Linked DNA regions of Homo sapiens: region 2 is linked to region 1. Evidence: promoter capture Hi-C in human tissues and cell types (Jung and others, 2019). All regions are on one chromosome and are shown on one strand. Each heading gives the region's core, a stretch centred on a gene start or on the middle of the fragment in contact. The rest is flanking DNA. Distances are from core to core; before and after follow the strand shown.

The links. Contacts are between HindIII fragments. The study calls those that stand out against the background at their distance.
Region 2: a fragment that was not itself captured here is called in contact with the fragment with the promoter of TBC1D9 in region 1 in 1 of the 25 tissues and cell types used here (liver).

What each region holds. Positions count from the first base shown.
Region 1 is chr4:140,752,338-140,759,486 of GRCh38, reverse strand. TBC1D9 (TBC1 domain family member 9) reads left to right here and starts at 3,102. Exons shown (of 21, transcript NM_015130.3): 1 at 3,102-3,571. The coding sequence starts at 3,442. RefSeq lists enhancers at 2,580-2,629, 2,120-2,761, 2,762-3,404 and a silencer at 3,060-3,749. The HindIII fragment of the contact is 15,545 bases long and covers 1,035-7,149 here.
Region 2 is chr4:140,892,230-140,899,378 of GRCh38, reverse strand. All of the region lies in intron 6 of RNF150 (ring finger protein 150), which reads left to right. Among named protein-coding and RNA genes, the nearest start is that of TBC1D9, 140 kb to the right of the region's middle. The HindIII fragment of the contact is 5,598 bases long and covers 1-5,468 here.

The DNA of each region.
Region 1 (7,149 bases), core at 1,853-4,352:
GGTTTCACCTTGTTGTCCAGGCTGGTCTCGAACTCCTGAGCTCAGGCAATCCACCTGCCTCGGTCTCCGAAAGTGCTAGGATTACAGGCTTGAGCCACCACGCCTGGCCTTGTTCACTTTTTATTCCAAGGCCTAGAGTATAGTAGGCATTCAATAATTATATGTTGAATAAGTGAATGAATGAATGAATGAATGAATAAATTGTATAAGTAAATAGCACTTGGTACCAGTATATAAAAAAGGCCAAAGTAACTTACATTTTGGGGCTAGGGTATAGGTTTTGGTGTGAAACCACAACCTTAAGCAGCATGCCAAGGGCAAGCCAAAAGATTGTTGTAGGCCGGGCATGGTGGCTTCTGGCACTTTGGGAGGCCCCAAGGCGGGCGGATCACTTGAGGTCAGGAGTTCAAGACCAGCCTGGCCAACGTGGTGAAACCCCGTCTCTCCTAAAAATACAACAATTAGCTGGGCGTCGTGGCTCACACCTGTAGTCCCAGCTACTCAGGAGGCTGAGGTGGGAGAATCACTTGAACTGGGAGGTGAAGGTTACAGTGAGCTGAGATCGTGCCACTGCACTCCAGCCTAGGTGACAGAGCGAGACTTTGTCTCAAACAAAACAAAAACAAAAGATTGTTGTAGGGGAAAAGGTGTGATATCTTTCCTTCCCATAAGGGTCATAGCCAACACACCTATAACAAAAGACAGGCTAACAAGAGAAAAGCACAACACATTTGTTTAATCAAAGTTTTAGGTGACATGGGAACCTTCAGAAATGAAGACGGAAAAACCCAGGGAAACCTGTCTATTTTTTTTTAATAGAGATGGGGTCTCTCTGGTTTAATACAGATGGGGTCCTCCTGGCTCTGCCTACCAAAATGCTGGGGTTGCAGGCATGAGCCACCATGCCCAGCCTGTTTATTTTTTTGAGAGAGTCTCGCTCTGTCCATTTTTGTGCTTAGGTTCAATGAAGAGTGGGCAGCCATGTAGATGTGGTTGGACAAAAGGGTAAGATCCAATGGTAATAGACTGAGAACAGACCCAGTCTGTCTGTTCAGATTCTTCTTGGCCTCTCCGTATAGCTTTCCCTCCTCCTGGGTTTAGAGCAGGACTCCTTTGGAAAGGGGACCTACTATCCAACAAGGTAGGGTAGATAATTTCTTTATTTCTCTATTCTTTATGTCTGCTCTTACACAGAAGAGTGAGGAATGGTAATATTTCTAGGTTTTGTAGCTTCCTTTGGGAAGAGGGGTTTTAGTTTCTATGACCTGCCTTTAGTTTCCATGACTCACTTTGGGGGAGAAAGAGAGGTGGGAGACAGGAGGGCAGAAGGAGGTCAGAGAGAAACTGCTTCTGAGGCCTTTCAATCTCCTTTAGTTCAAAGTACTCAGCATGCCAAAGCACCATGCTTTGTGGTATCATTTTCCAAACCCCAACATGGTATTAAGGCACTTAGAGTTTTTAAAAATACCAATTATATCAAGTAAAAGAATACCTATGGAAACACTTCAAAAATATAAAAGTTACATGATATATTAATATAATTTTTGCATATGTATGACTTATAATCTTATTGTTTGCTTTTTATTTGCAGATTTTGTGACTGAAGGCACTGCACTGTGACCAAAAGTGCCAAATGAGTTTTTTGAGTCTGTGTTAAATACATGAGGTTTCCACTGATGCCTGGAAGAAGCAGATCAGTCTGTGTGGTAACATCAAGGGAAACTTCCATTCCTTGAGAGCCCAAGCGGTAGGAAGCGAACAGATGAAATGGCAGTCTCATTAGAATGGCTGGTGATTTGCTCATTCGACTAATTGAAGGAATTCAACAATTCAAGTCGGAGCTACAAAAGTCACAATTTTGAAGCCCACACAAGAAGGTTTCATTTGAATCTCTGCTCATTTGGAAAGGGAAAAGTCCCTAGGATTGCCCAGCATCCACAACAAAGCAGAGTCTGCTAAATTCCCATCATTTGGGAAGAGGAACTTTTTTTTTTTTTTTTTTTTTTTTTTTTTTGGCTGAACTATCCTCCAGATCTCCTGGGCGGGAGGAAAAAAAAATGGTCATCAGATATGTAGGCAGATGGGCTGTGATCACCACTGGAAGCTCGAAGTATTTGGGGAAACTGAAACTGTCTAGGGATAAAGCTGCCCTGGTTTGTGTGTTTCTGGTTTCACTGATTAAAAAAAAAATCCATCTACCAAGAGTGGATAAATTTTAAAATTCTGCCATGCCCAGTTTTCGAAGCCCCAAATGCGATATAGGAACAGCTGTGGTGTGAATTAGTTGGTCTAAGCTTTTGGGCCGCTTCCAACTTCTCTATTGCTCACGCCCTACAGGTCAAGGAAAGAAGTGATGTAATGCACTTAGCTAGGCCACTTTAATTACAATGGAATGGAGAGGGGGGAGGGGTCACAAGCGGTGACAAGTTTAGCGCATGACTTGCCCTGGGGATGCAGGAAACAAAAACATCGACGACCATTGGCTGCGTTGGCTTCCGACCCCGGGTCTCTAACCGAGCTCCAGGTCTGGAACCTTGAAACACTTTTCCTGGGAAAAGGGGTGGCGCTATCCCATAGAGCGTCAACCTTAAACACAAACAGCACACACGCACCCACGCAGGCTGGCGGCGTCCTCCCTGCTGGGATGGGCGTCGGGCCCAGTGCTTGGCACACGGTCCCCAGGAGCTTCCCCCGAAGGTTCCCCCGAAGCCAGCCACAGCTGCTCAGCTCGGCGCGCGGAGCCCGCGGTGGTACCGAGTCCGCACAAACCCGGACCCGCTCCAAGTGAGCCGCGTTGTCGTCATTCATTCGCAGTGTCCGGAGCGTCCTTCCAGCGGGGAGCTGGGCTTCCCTAGTGGCGCCTGCGGCCCCGACACGGCGCGTTAAGGCGCGGCGACTTCGGGAGCTCGAGCAGGTAGAGACGGGAGGGGCTCTGGAGCTCCAGTCGGCGCCGCGGGAGCAGCAGCGCCGGAGCCCAGCTTGGCCCTGACCGCGGGGCCGAATCCGCTCGGGTGGCCCTTAGCCCTGCCTGGCGCTGAGCCGGATCCCGGGACTGAGCTATACCACTTCCTCCTCCTCCCGCTCCCTTCCTCCTCCTCTTCCTCCTCCTCCCGCTCCTCCCGCCGCCGTGGGCCGGGAGCCGGGCTGCAGAGTGCCAGGCCGGGCGTCTGCGGCCGCGGGCTCTCGCGGGGCGGCGACGCCGCGGGGAGGATGCTGCTTGCCGCGCCCGCGTCCTCACCGTCCTCCCGGGCCGCCTGCTGGGGCTTTGTTGTGGCCCGGACGCCGCGGGCCACCCCCTGAAGTCGCCTGCCGCCGCCGCCGCCGCACCTAGCGGACGGGCGGGCGGGCGCGCGTGTGCCCAGGAGTGCGCGCCTGTCGCGGTGGTGGGTGCAGGACTGGACCCACGGGCCCATTGTGCGCCCGCCCGCGGCAGCCAGGACCATGTGGGTGAACCCGGAGGAGGTGTTGCTGGCCAACGCGCTGTGGATCACCGAGAGGGCCAACCCATACTTCATCCTGCAGCGGAGGAAGGGCCACGCCGGCGATGGAGGCGGCGGCGGCGGACTGGCGGGTAAGGACCGTGGCCGATCCCTGCAGGAGGGGAGCCGGGAGCGCTGCGGCGCCGCCCGCGGCCTGGGCTGCAGGCTCGGGAGACGCCGCCCGGTCCCCTGGGGCTGGGCGACCCGCCCTGCCTCGTTGTATGCGAGGCATCGAGAGTCGTGATGTTCAGGTTGGGCAGAGATGCTTCTTTTTTTGACTCTGTCAGGCTTGGGGCCCTCAGCGTACTGAGCGCTCTTTAAGTGGATATGTTGAGGAGAATGGGAAAGAGTGAGTCTGGGGCGGAGGGAATGTATTATCCCCTATATATTGAATGCATCATTCCCTTCCCCTCCCCCCCTTAAAAATATTGTTTTCCAAATGGAAAAGAGGGATGGAAGAAGGTTAATTTTTGCTCCACTTTCTTTACTGGCAACAGCAGGATCAGGTATAAAATGCTCTTTTGTTTCCAGGGAAGCGATAAGTAAGGAACTGATGTGGTCATTTCCTATATGAGTTATGACCGAAGAGAATGAATACGGAAACAGGAATTTTTTTGTTTCACCTAATTAGACATAAAGCAAAGCAAATTGTCTGGTTCTAGTTGTAAAAATAATTGGCTGTATAACTGCATTTTAACTATTTTTGCTCAATCACTTCTTCCCTAAACCCCCTCCCTTCAAGGTATTATTGTAATTGTTGCTGAAGCCATGTCATATCATTCAGGATAATAAGATCAGTCAGACCCATATCCAAAGTAGTGCCATATTAGAAATAATCTCGAACTCATACCATACTAGAGAAATTGGACCTTCTCCATCTCTGTGTTATTTAGAATGAACAGAACTGGAATACTTTTTACAGTGAAAAAGTTAGCAGAAGAAATAGTAGAGGTTTCACTAGAAAGGAGACTGCAAAAAAGAGATGAACTTTGACCCTCCTCAGAGTTGAGCTTATATCAACCTCATATATCACCTGGAGTTTGCACAATAGGTAAATTGTTGCTTTCAAATGCTGTGCTATGAAATAAAGATTCTTGATATATGTATTTACTTATGATTATATTTATAAACTAATTTTCTTAAGATTAAAATTCAGGTGTCATGTGGTACAATGTATACTGGTATGTTTGAAGGATCTTGATTCTACCAGAAAAGATAAATCTGCAGAGCTCCAGACCCCATTCTGGAAATACTTACTAGTGATCTGATACCAGGATTTTCCAGGTCATTTTGTAGAAGTTATCTAACTCTAAATGTTAATATGTAATTTACATATCTAATATTGGAATCAGCCCACATTGTCCTTTTTTTTTTTTTTTTTTTTTTTTTTTTTGAGACAGAGTCCTGCTTTGTCGCCCAGGCTGGAGTGCAGTGGCGTGATCTCGGCTCACTGCAACCTCCTTCTCCTGGGTTCAAGTGATTCTCCTGCCTCAGCCTCCTGAGTAGCTGGGACTACAGGCATGCACCAACCCGCCCGGCTAATTTTTTTTGTATTTTTAATAGATGGGGTTTCACCATGTTGGCCAGGCTGGTCTTGAACTCCTGATCTCAAATAATCCGCCCACTTTGGCCTCCCGAAGTGCTGGGATTAAAGGCGTGAGCCACCTCACCCGGCCCATGTAGTCCTTTAAGCCTAGGACAACAACACAGAGTAGATAATTTATTGTAGTAAAAAGAGAACATTTCCTTCTGCAATTAACCCTCCTACACCTTGTAAGCATTAAGTATTCATTTACCTGTGTCATTTGTAATAGGATGTGAAAAATTCAGGGATTCAGAGCCTTCTTTTTCTGCTTAACATTTGTATTGTGTTCCTACTGGTTCTTAGAGCTATAACTGACTACGGTCCACTTGAAATCTCATCTTGTCATCAATGACTTCTTTCACTTAGGTAAAATTACATCTTGTAAATTGAGAAATCACAGTGATTGCACTTATTAATGGAATAATTGAAATCATTGTCATGAGTAAAAGTATTTATGACAACAAAGGCTATTTTCAAGCAAGAGAGGTAAAATGTTTGGTCTAATACCTTGGTGCCATGTCAAATGTAGCAGGAACATTTTAGAAATGTTACACAATGTGTAGTATATTCTGATTCTAATGTAAGTTCATTCATTCACTAACTCACTAAATCATTTAACAAATATTTGTTGGCAACTTCTAGAAGTGCTAATGTTGTGAAGCTCAAGCCTAGTAGAAGACAGGTATTGATGAAATAATCACATAAATTAAAGTAAAATTGCCACTCTACAGAGTCCCAGCAGAAAACAGAATCCAAATGAAGAGAGATGAGTGAAAAGACAACTTCGAAAAATAGAGGCATGGTTATTTGAACTGGTGTAAGGCAAACCAGAGGCAGGACTCTCAGGAGTCCGTGAGAGCTGGAGCCAGGGAAGAGGAACTTGAGCCTGGAGAGAAGCAGCTACTTGTAAAAACATAGACAATAGCAGAAAGGGAGTGGGGAGTACATGCCCTGACTTCTCTCTTCTCCCACCCTCCCAGCTTCTGCCACTGCCTCCCATCCCTGGAACCCAATAGAAGCCAGCTAAGGAACTGGGCATGGTGGTGTATGCCTGTAGTCCCAGCTGCTGGGGAGGCTGAGGCTGGAGGATGGTTTGAGCCTAGGCATTCAAATCCGGACTGGGCAACATGGTGAGACCTTATCGCTAGAAAAGGAAAAAAAAAAAAGAATCTAGCTGGAAAGAGTCCTGGTAATGTAGTTTCTTGGGATCAGCCTCCCAGGAATGGATGGGGGCAAACTGAGAATGATCAGAACAAATATCATAAGAAGAGGAACATGATGTTGGTTAGTCCCAGTTAAGTGATGGGGTCTTGGAGGTGGAGGCAAAGGAAAGATTCCTTGAGGAAGTGACGCTTGAGCTTAGAACTGAAGAAAGAAAAAGATCTGCCTGTGAGGAGAGGAGGGAAGAGTAAGTGTTAGATATCAGCTGTTGGAGATTTTCTGGAAGATCTCAGGACCTTTACATAATATGCATTATCTGGATCAGTGTACATGTGTACACCCAGCAAATAGATGACAGATGAGTAGGGAAACTTGCCCAGTGTGAACTGGCCAGAAGTGGTCTCAAAGTGTGGTCATCAGGGAGCTTGGAAAGATTAGCACAGAAAGCTATAAAAAACAGTGGGTCAAAGTTGAGGACACTTAACATTTTTTAAAAATTAAGATATTCTAGGTTCCTGATTCCAAGCAATATGTATAGGCATTGGTGCAATGAAGTCTTCCATTGTGGATGCATTTGATTGATTTATTTAACCCCCTTTGACTGAGATTTCATACATATACATAAAATTACAGAAATCAGATGCAAAGTGCAGTGATCTACTACAATGTGAACACTTGGCAACCAACACCAGGATAAAAAAAAATAGAACACCAGGATAAAAAATATAGAACACTGCTAATGTGCCAAAAGCCCCCTTGTGATTCTCAGCCAATCATTGTCACCTCCCCCAAAGATAAAGACTATCCTCATGCTTTTTTGTAAACACTTCCTTGATTTTCTTTGTAGTTTTTCCAAAGAACATATCCCTAAACACTATATTTTGGTTTTGCTTTTTTTTTTAAGCAAGAAATGAAATGGAATTA
Region 2 (7,149 bases), core at 1,420-3,919, 140 kb before region 1:
ATGCTTCTGATAAAGTTCAGTTAGGAGCCCACATTTAAATATGGCAAGGTTTTACATAGAAACCTGAATTTTCAATTTGGAAAATCTGGAAGCTGCAGCAATCCTGGGCCACATTTCCTTATGGTGACACTTGGTTCAGCCCTTTTGAGGCAAAGCACGTCCTCTGCAGTTCACTGCAGCCTTGCAATCCCAAATTTATGGACAGTTTCAGGGCAGCAGTACTTCTTTCACACACAGTGCTAAGATCAATGTTTTGAATGTTCCTATTAGATCTCATTTAAAAAAAAACCATTAGTAAAATCATACAGGGAAACAATACGTGTGCCTATGAGCCAACAACATGCACAGTTAACACACTGTCTCGTATCTAATGTTCGCAGCAGGGAGGAACAATTAGTAGATTTATAGACCAGAGTTCCATCAAAATTTTTTTGTCAAACAAATCACTCATTTCTATAAATTAAGACTTATGCCTTAATCAGGGCTGTCAGCACAAGAAAGTATTGGCTGCACTTACACTCCTGCTGTGCAACAAGAACAGTGGAATGAATTTTTAAAAGAAAAATAATCCCATAATAGTACTGCCACTGTTATTTAAATAGGAGTTAGAAAATAGGACTTAGAAATCAAAGTTTAAGCATGAACTCAATGGGTTAAAAAGCATATCTTCCTTGTTAAAAAACTGAGATAAAAATATATGTAGTTGGATACATAAATACTTGCATACACAAGCACATACATGCATGCATATGTGGAAGTATGTGTGCCTGTGCACATCTGTATACCAAGTGTGCCCATGCACCTATGTAGGAACATAAACCTATAACATGTTCATATATGCATATCATATGTGTCAGACATTTGTACCTAAAGCAGTACTTCGACATGCATGCACATCTGTGCTTTTATCTAGCATAAATGCATGACTGCACGCATACATACATGTTACTCAGTACCATCAACTTTATGTAATAGTAGTTAGCCATGTCTCAGCAGGGATGATTGAAATTTCTCATCATGGGTCTCCTGATTACTCCTAGAAATGAAACTGTAGTTGCAGCTTACCTCATAAGAGAAAGAACAACTCAAAAAAAAAAAATGTGTGCATCATTTTTTTTGTTAAGTGAACCTAAGGCTCTCTAATATCTGGAAAAATTAAATATGCCCCTACAAGTAAGGCAGTTCCTAATTTTAGGAATAGTATATCCCTAGCATCCAAGCCCTATGATAGAACAACACCTTTGGGGCCAGGTAAAATTGTATGTGTCCATCCATACTGAGTGGTAGTAGGTCTCTTCATCTGGTGGGGCATCAAGGAACATGATCAGATAGTAAAGGCACTGTAAGTAAACTGTAGGTCTTTGTTAGACAGCAGAGAGAGGTATTGAAATTTCCCATCCCTAATTTATGTCCCTGACAATAATGTACGTTCTTGGTAGTAAAGCTAGGTCAAGGCCCAACCCTGCCACCTGCTATCTGTGTAACTTTGGACAAATAGCTCAACCTCTCTGTACCTCTAGTTCTCATCTGTAAAATGGAGGTAATTTAGAGAATACCTACCTCTGGGATTAAATGTAATGCAATAATCCTTAGAAAAGTACCTGGTCCATAATAAGCATTCAAAAAAAATGTTACTGTATAGAAGAGAAGGTGAAGGGGCTCAAACACTAGTAAACTTTGTGCCAAGAATCTTAGAGAGCTTTACATATTTTATTTAACCTTTACAATTATCACTCTTTTATATCTAAGAAACTGAATTAGAGAGCAGTCTAGGAACCATGTCAGAGGTCACACATGGAGTAAATGGCAGGGCTGGAGGGAAAACTCTTGTCACTCTCATCAAAGCCCAGATTCTTTCTCCAGTTTCTCAAACCAGTTTCTAGCTATGGTCTGAACACCCACCTGGGCTGTAGTTGGAGTGCAGATCCATAGGCCCCTCCCCAGATCTACTCAATCACAGTTTCTAGGGGTAGGCAGAGAATTGTCACTTCTATCAGGCTTCCTGAGCAATTCGTTCTAAAGCCAGAGTTTCAAAACGTATGCCCAGCAACCCCAGAGTGCCTGCCCGAGGAAAACAGAACCCAAGACAATGCACACATTCTAAGTGGTATCTTATCCCTGCAGCGTCTTGAAATTTTCTCATATTAATTGTATGCAGGGGTACTGGAGGTAGAACATTCTCTTCAGTCAAACTAACTTTACCTATTTCTTGTTTACTCTGCCTTGAGAATCTCCCCACTGAACACATAAGTGCAATTGTGTGTGCTTGATCCTTGGAGGATCCTTCTTAAGAGACCTGTGCTGTGTGTTGATACATGCAATAAAGATGACCACTGGATCCTTACAGCCCTGGTCCAAATCCCAAAATACAATGATAGAAAATACAAGTAGGTTTTTACTTAGTCATGCCTTACTTGTGATCTTGATGGAGGTTTAATCCTAGCAGCCAACATTGCTATCTGGGGAAGTCTGCTGCCTTTTGATTATTATAATAATGGCTTCTTTGCTCATGAAACATCCCCGACCTGATGTGTGACCTACACACGGTGGTGCAGGCATTCTCTTACATTTTTAGCATAAGCCGTAATTCTAGAATCATCTACTAGAAAAAGGAAGTGCTTCCTTTCTTTTTTAAAGAAAAAAAATTATTTTTTTTTGTTTGTTTGTTTGTTTTTTTGTTTTTTTTTTTTTATTATACTCTAAGTTTTAGGGTACATGTGCACATTGTGCAGGTTAGTTACATATGTATACATGTGCCATGCTGGTGCGCTGCACCCACTAATGTGTCATCTAGCATTAGGTATATCTCCCAATGCTATCCCTCCCCCCTCCCCCGACCCCACCACAGTCCCCAGAGTGTGATATTCCCCTTCCTGTGTCCATGTGATCTCATTGTTCAATTCCCACCTATGAGTGAGAATATGCGGTGTTTGGTTTTTTGTTCTTGCGATAGTTTACTGAGAATGATGGTTTCCAATTTCATCCATGTCCCTACAAAGGATATGAACTCATCATTTTTTATGGCTGCATAGTATTCCATGGTGTATATGTGCCACATTTTCTTAATCCAGTCTATCATTGTTGGACATTTGGGTTGGTTCCAAGTCTTTGCTATTGTGAATAGTGCCGCAATAAACATACGTGTGCATGTGTCTTTATAGCAGCATGATTTATAGTCCTTTGGGTATATACCCAGTAATGGGATGGCTGGGTCAAATGGTATTTCTAGTTCTAGATCCCTGAGGAATCGCCACACTGACTTCCACAATGGTTGAACTAGTTTACAGTCCCACCAACAGTGTAAAAGTGTTCCTGTTTCTCCACATCCTCTCCAGCACCTGTTGTTTCCTGACTTTTTAATGATTGCCATTCTAACTGGTGTGAGATGATATCTCATAGTGGTTTTGATTTGCATTTCTCTGATGGCCAGTGATGATGAGCATTTCTTCATGTGTTTTTTGGCTGCATAAATGTCTTCTTTTGAGAAGTGTCTGTTCATGTCCTTCGCAGAAAAAAAATTCTTTAAAAATCTTAGATACTGAAATAAGTCCTTGAATGAGCAGATCAAAAGATAAGTTTTGAAAGAATTACCATTGGTTTTCTCAGATGCATAATTTTACTGAGGGAAGAATTCTTTGGTGTCATAAAATTAACTACCATAAGAAAAAGGATAAGACAACAAGGCTACATTTCATAGTTTCTTTGGGTGCATTGCAGCTAAGATCTGCAACACAGAACTAAGAGTTGGTAACTGCTAAGCAGAATGATCTGCCACCAAAGTTAAGAGTATAGACAATGTGTTCTGGGAGCTGATAATTGGCAGGAGGTAATAATGGTAGGAACTCTATTTTTCTTTGTTTTTATTTTCCTATCTTGATGAACAATTACAGTTATGGAACATATGGAACCATAGCTTTGCTCTTATAATGTATATAGGCTAATTTCCTACAGAGACATATGTTTTTTGCTTCCAAGGCATATTGTGGGGACTTTGACTTACATTGATGCATAGCTATGCTTATAATATGCCCATTTTCTACTTCCAGGGCTGTCTCAGTGCCTAAATATTCAGCTTCCCCTTAGAGAAACCCTGTCTCTAAAAATATAACCATAAAATAGAAAAATATACTCACTTATGATGCTGGAATTCCCATCAAAGCTTTGAAGGAAAAATGTTCAAACAGTCTCAGAAATCCCAATTAGCCCTCATGCTACCTGTGCCCCCTGACCCTCTCCAGGAGATTTTCTCTTAAAGGGAGTGGGAGAAAACCAAAGGGGACCTGGGACTTAGTCTCTAGTGGGTTAATGAACAGGATCCACAAAGGTAATGTTCTCAAGGACCCTCACTTCTTTTTGCCAGGCTTGCAGATTCCTGGGGCAAGAAAGAGTCTGCTCTCCCTGAGAGTTCCCTGAATTGAAGATGCTCCCTTGGTATCCATGGAGACTCAGGCAGCTCAGCCCCAGATGAGCAAGTTATTTGTGACTTCGAGATTTATGGATTTGTTCACTCTGCACCATACTTACATTATTGACAAGGCATCTACGTTACAGGAAACTGCCGACATAGTCTCAGGCAGCTTTCTTCATGGCAAAATAATATAAAATATTTGCAGGCCGGACAAAAATAAACATTGAAGATCTATTCAGCAGTACCTACTATTTAGGACATGGGCCATGTTTGTGGCTGCAGATTTTTTAAGAATACAAGTTCAAAATGTGCATTGATTGTTTGCTACTGGGAAGCACTGGCAAAATGTTAAACAAAGCATGCACCAATCAAAGGAGGGGACCCAGGATCTCTATCATGGACAAATATTTAGGGTTATTTGTCTTAAATATTTATGGAGTTTAAAAAGTGGGGGATGGGGCTCACTATAAACATCAGTAATCATCCCAAAAAGCAGCAGCATGATCCTTTAAAAAGAAAGAAAAATTCAGAAACTACGTGAGCCACATGTTAAAATGACTTTCTGTTGTGGAAAGGTCACAGAATATATTAACAATAACTAGGGAGAGAAAACATCATAAAACACTCTGAAGATACCTAGAAGACCTCATCAGAAGTTAATCTGGAAGTCTTTCATTAATTAAACACAGCTATTTTACCAAAAGATGTTGGTGATTTAGCATAAGATTTATTAATGCCTATTTTGAGCTAGGATGACATTGCCCCTCCTCTGAAGGAATTTAGGTTTGAACAGATGTAAAACAGATGTGTACAAAATAGCAGTTACTTTGCCAAGTGCTGTTTCTTAAGAACAGATCTCATTTGCCAGATCTACTAAAAGCTTTGTCTACATAAGGGATTTGCATAGCTTTCCTGAGTTTAGAAAGAGACAGAGAAAGGAACCATCACTCTTCAGCTTGTGGAGGAAATACTAAAACCTTAACCCCCATGTTAAATTCCAGGAACTCCCTATGGACTTGTTTAGGGAATTTGGCCTTTTGTACATATATTGGAGAATATTAGGATGAAATGCCTCTGTCTTAGATTTTGCATTCCTAATACTAGAAAATTGCTAGTTTTTCAGTTTTAAAATTTTAAGAATTTTCCTAATTCTGTGTTTATTGTGTACATGTTTAGTCACTCATGATAATCCAACTCTAAACGATACCTTTTCAGTTCTTCTCAATTCTTCATTTTTAAGCTTCACAAGCCCCCGCCAGAACAACTGGCTTATTCACACCCCCACCACTGCCAGCTTCAGGAACCATTCCACACAGGTGGCCCCTCTTCTTAGGGAGGTGCTGAGCATGGTTCTAAAAGAGAAACAAGGAAACAGAAAATGATCTTAAAAGGTACCTAATAAGGTGGAGTTGGAAAGAGCAGGAATGAGATTCCTGTCCCATAATAAATGAAACACTTGAGCTCGCTGCTCAGTCTAGGTCTTGTTTCTCTTAGCCTACTCTGTGGTTTTGCCTTGATTCCTTAGCATGATGTATTCCACATAGCATTGATATCAAAAGAGCATAAGTCCCCTTCCCCAGTGTTTTATCCTTTCAAAAAATCAACATGATATCTTCAGATTTTCCCATTTATTTATTCAGTACATTCAAGTGATAACTTTTGCATTTCTTTTATTTCTATAGCATTAGAGATGCAGTCTTGCAAAATAAGCCCCTGACCCCTGAGAAATTACAGTCTGCTCTAGTTAGGAGAAAAAACATCCATGGGTGGAATATTTAAATAATGAAATAAGGCAGTGGTGTTAATCACATGCCTGGAATATTGTGAATAAAAGTGTTCTTTGGAGAAAGGCCGGGGGGTGGTCATGGTGGCAACACTACCCTCAGACCTTTTTTTTTCTTTTAAGAGATGGATCTCACTCCATCTCCCAGGCTGGATTGCAATGGTGCAATCATGGCTCACTGCAGCCTCAATCTTTTGGCTCAAGCAATCCTCTTACCTCAAGCTCCTGAGTAGCTGGGACTACAGGTACACACCACCACACTCAGCTAATCTTTTAGCTTATTTTTTTTTTAAGAGATGGGGTCTCACTATGTTGCCCAGGCTGGTCCCAAACTCCTGGCCTCAAGCGATCCTCCTGCTTGGGCCTCCCAAGTGCTGGGATTACAGGCATGAGCCACACTACACCAGCCTCCACAGACCTTTTACTCTAGGGTACAGTTTGGCTACATCCCTCCCCAGGGGGAAGGAACTTGTGAGGCCAAGAAGTCGCCGACATCCCTCCCCAGGGGGAAGGAGCCTGCGAAGCCAAGAAGTCACCCAGACTCCCTAACCCACTTTCTGGAGACAGAGTTAGCAGGATACAAAATTGCCATTGTATGGAAGTCCTGAATTGGCCACACCTTTGCCTTTGGGTTTTTAACAAAAGTCTTTTTCAAACCCAATATTTGTGTACAGTTCAAATGTAATAAAGAGATCAGCTTAAACTCGTGGTTTTTTAAGTTAATAAATACATGAAAAGCAGCCAGCACAGGCTGGTGAAGTATAGGTCCTTCCCCTCCCTTGTTGTTGCATCACTACAAGCGGAGGCATTTGGCAGAATTAATTTTAGCCATCAGATGCTTGTTTTGTTTTAGCTTTTCAGGAAACATAGATCAGATTAGCAAAAGAACTATAGATCAAATTAGTTAAGTAAATGAGGGGGTTCAACAACTTCAACAGATTCATTACACTATTAGTCA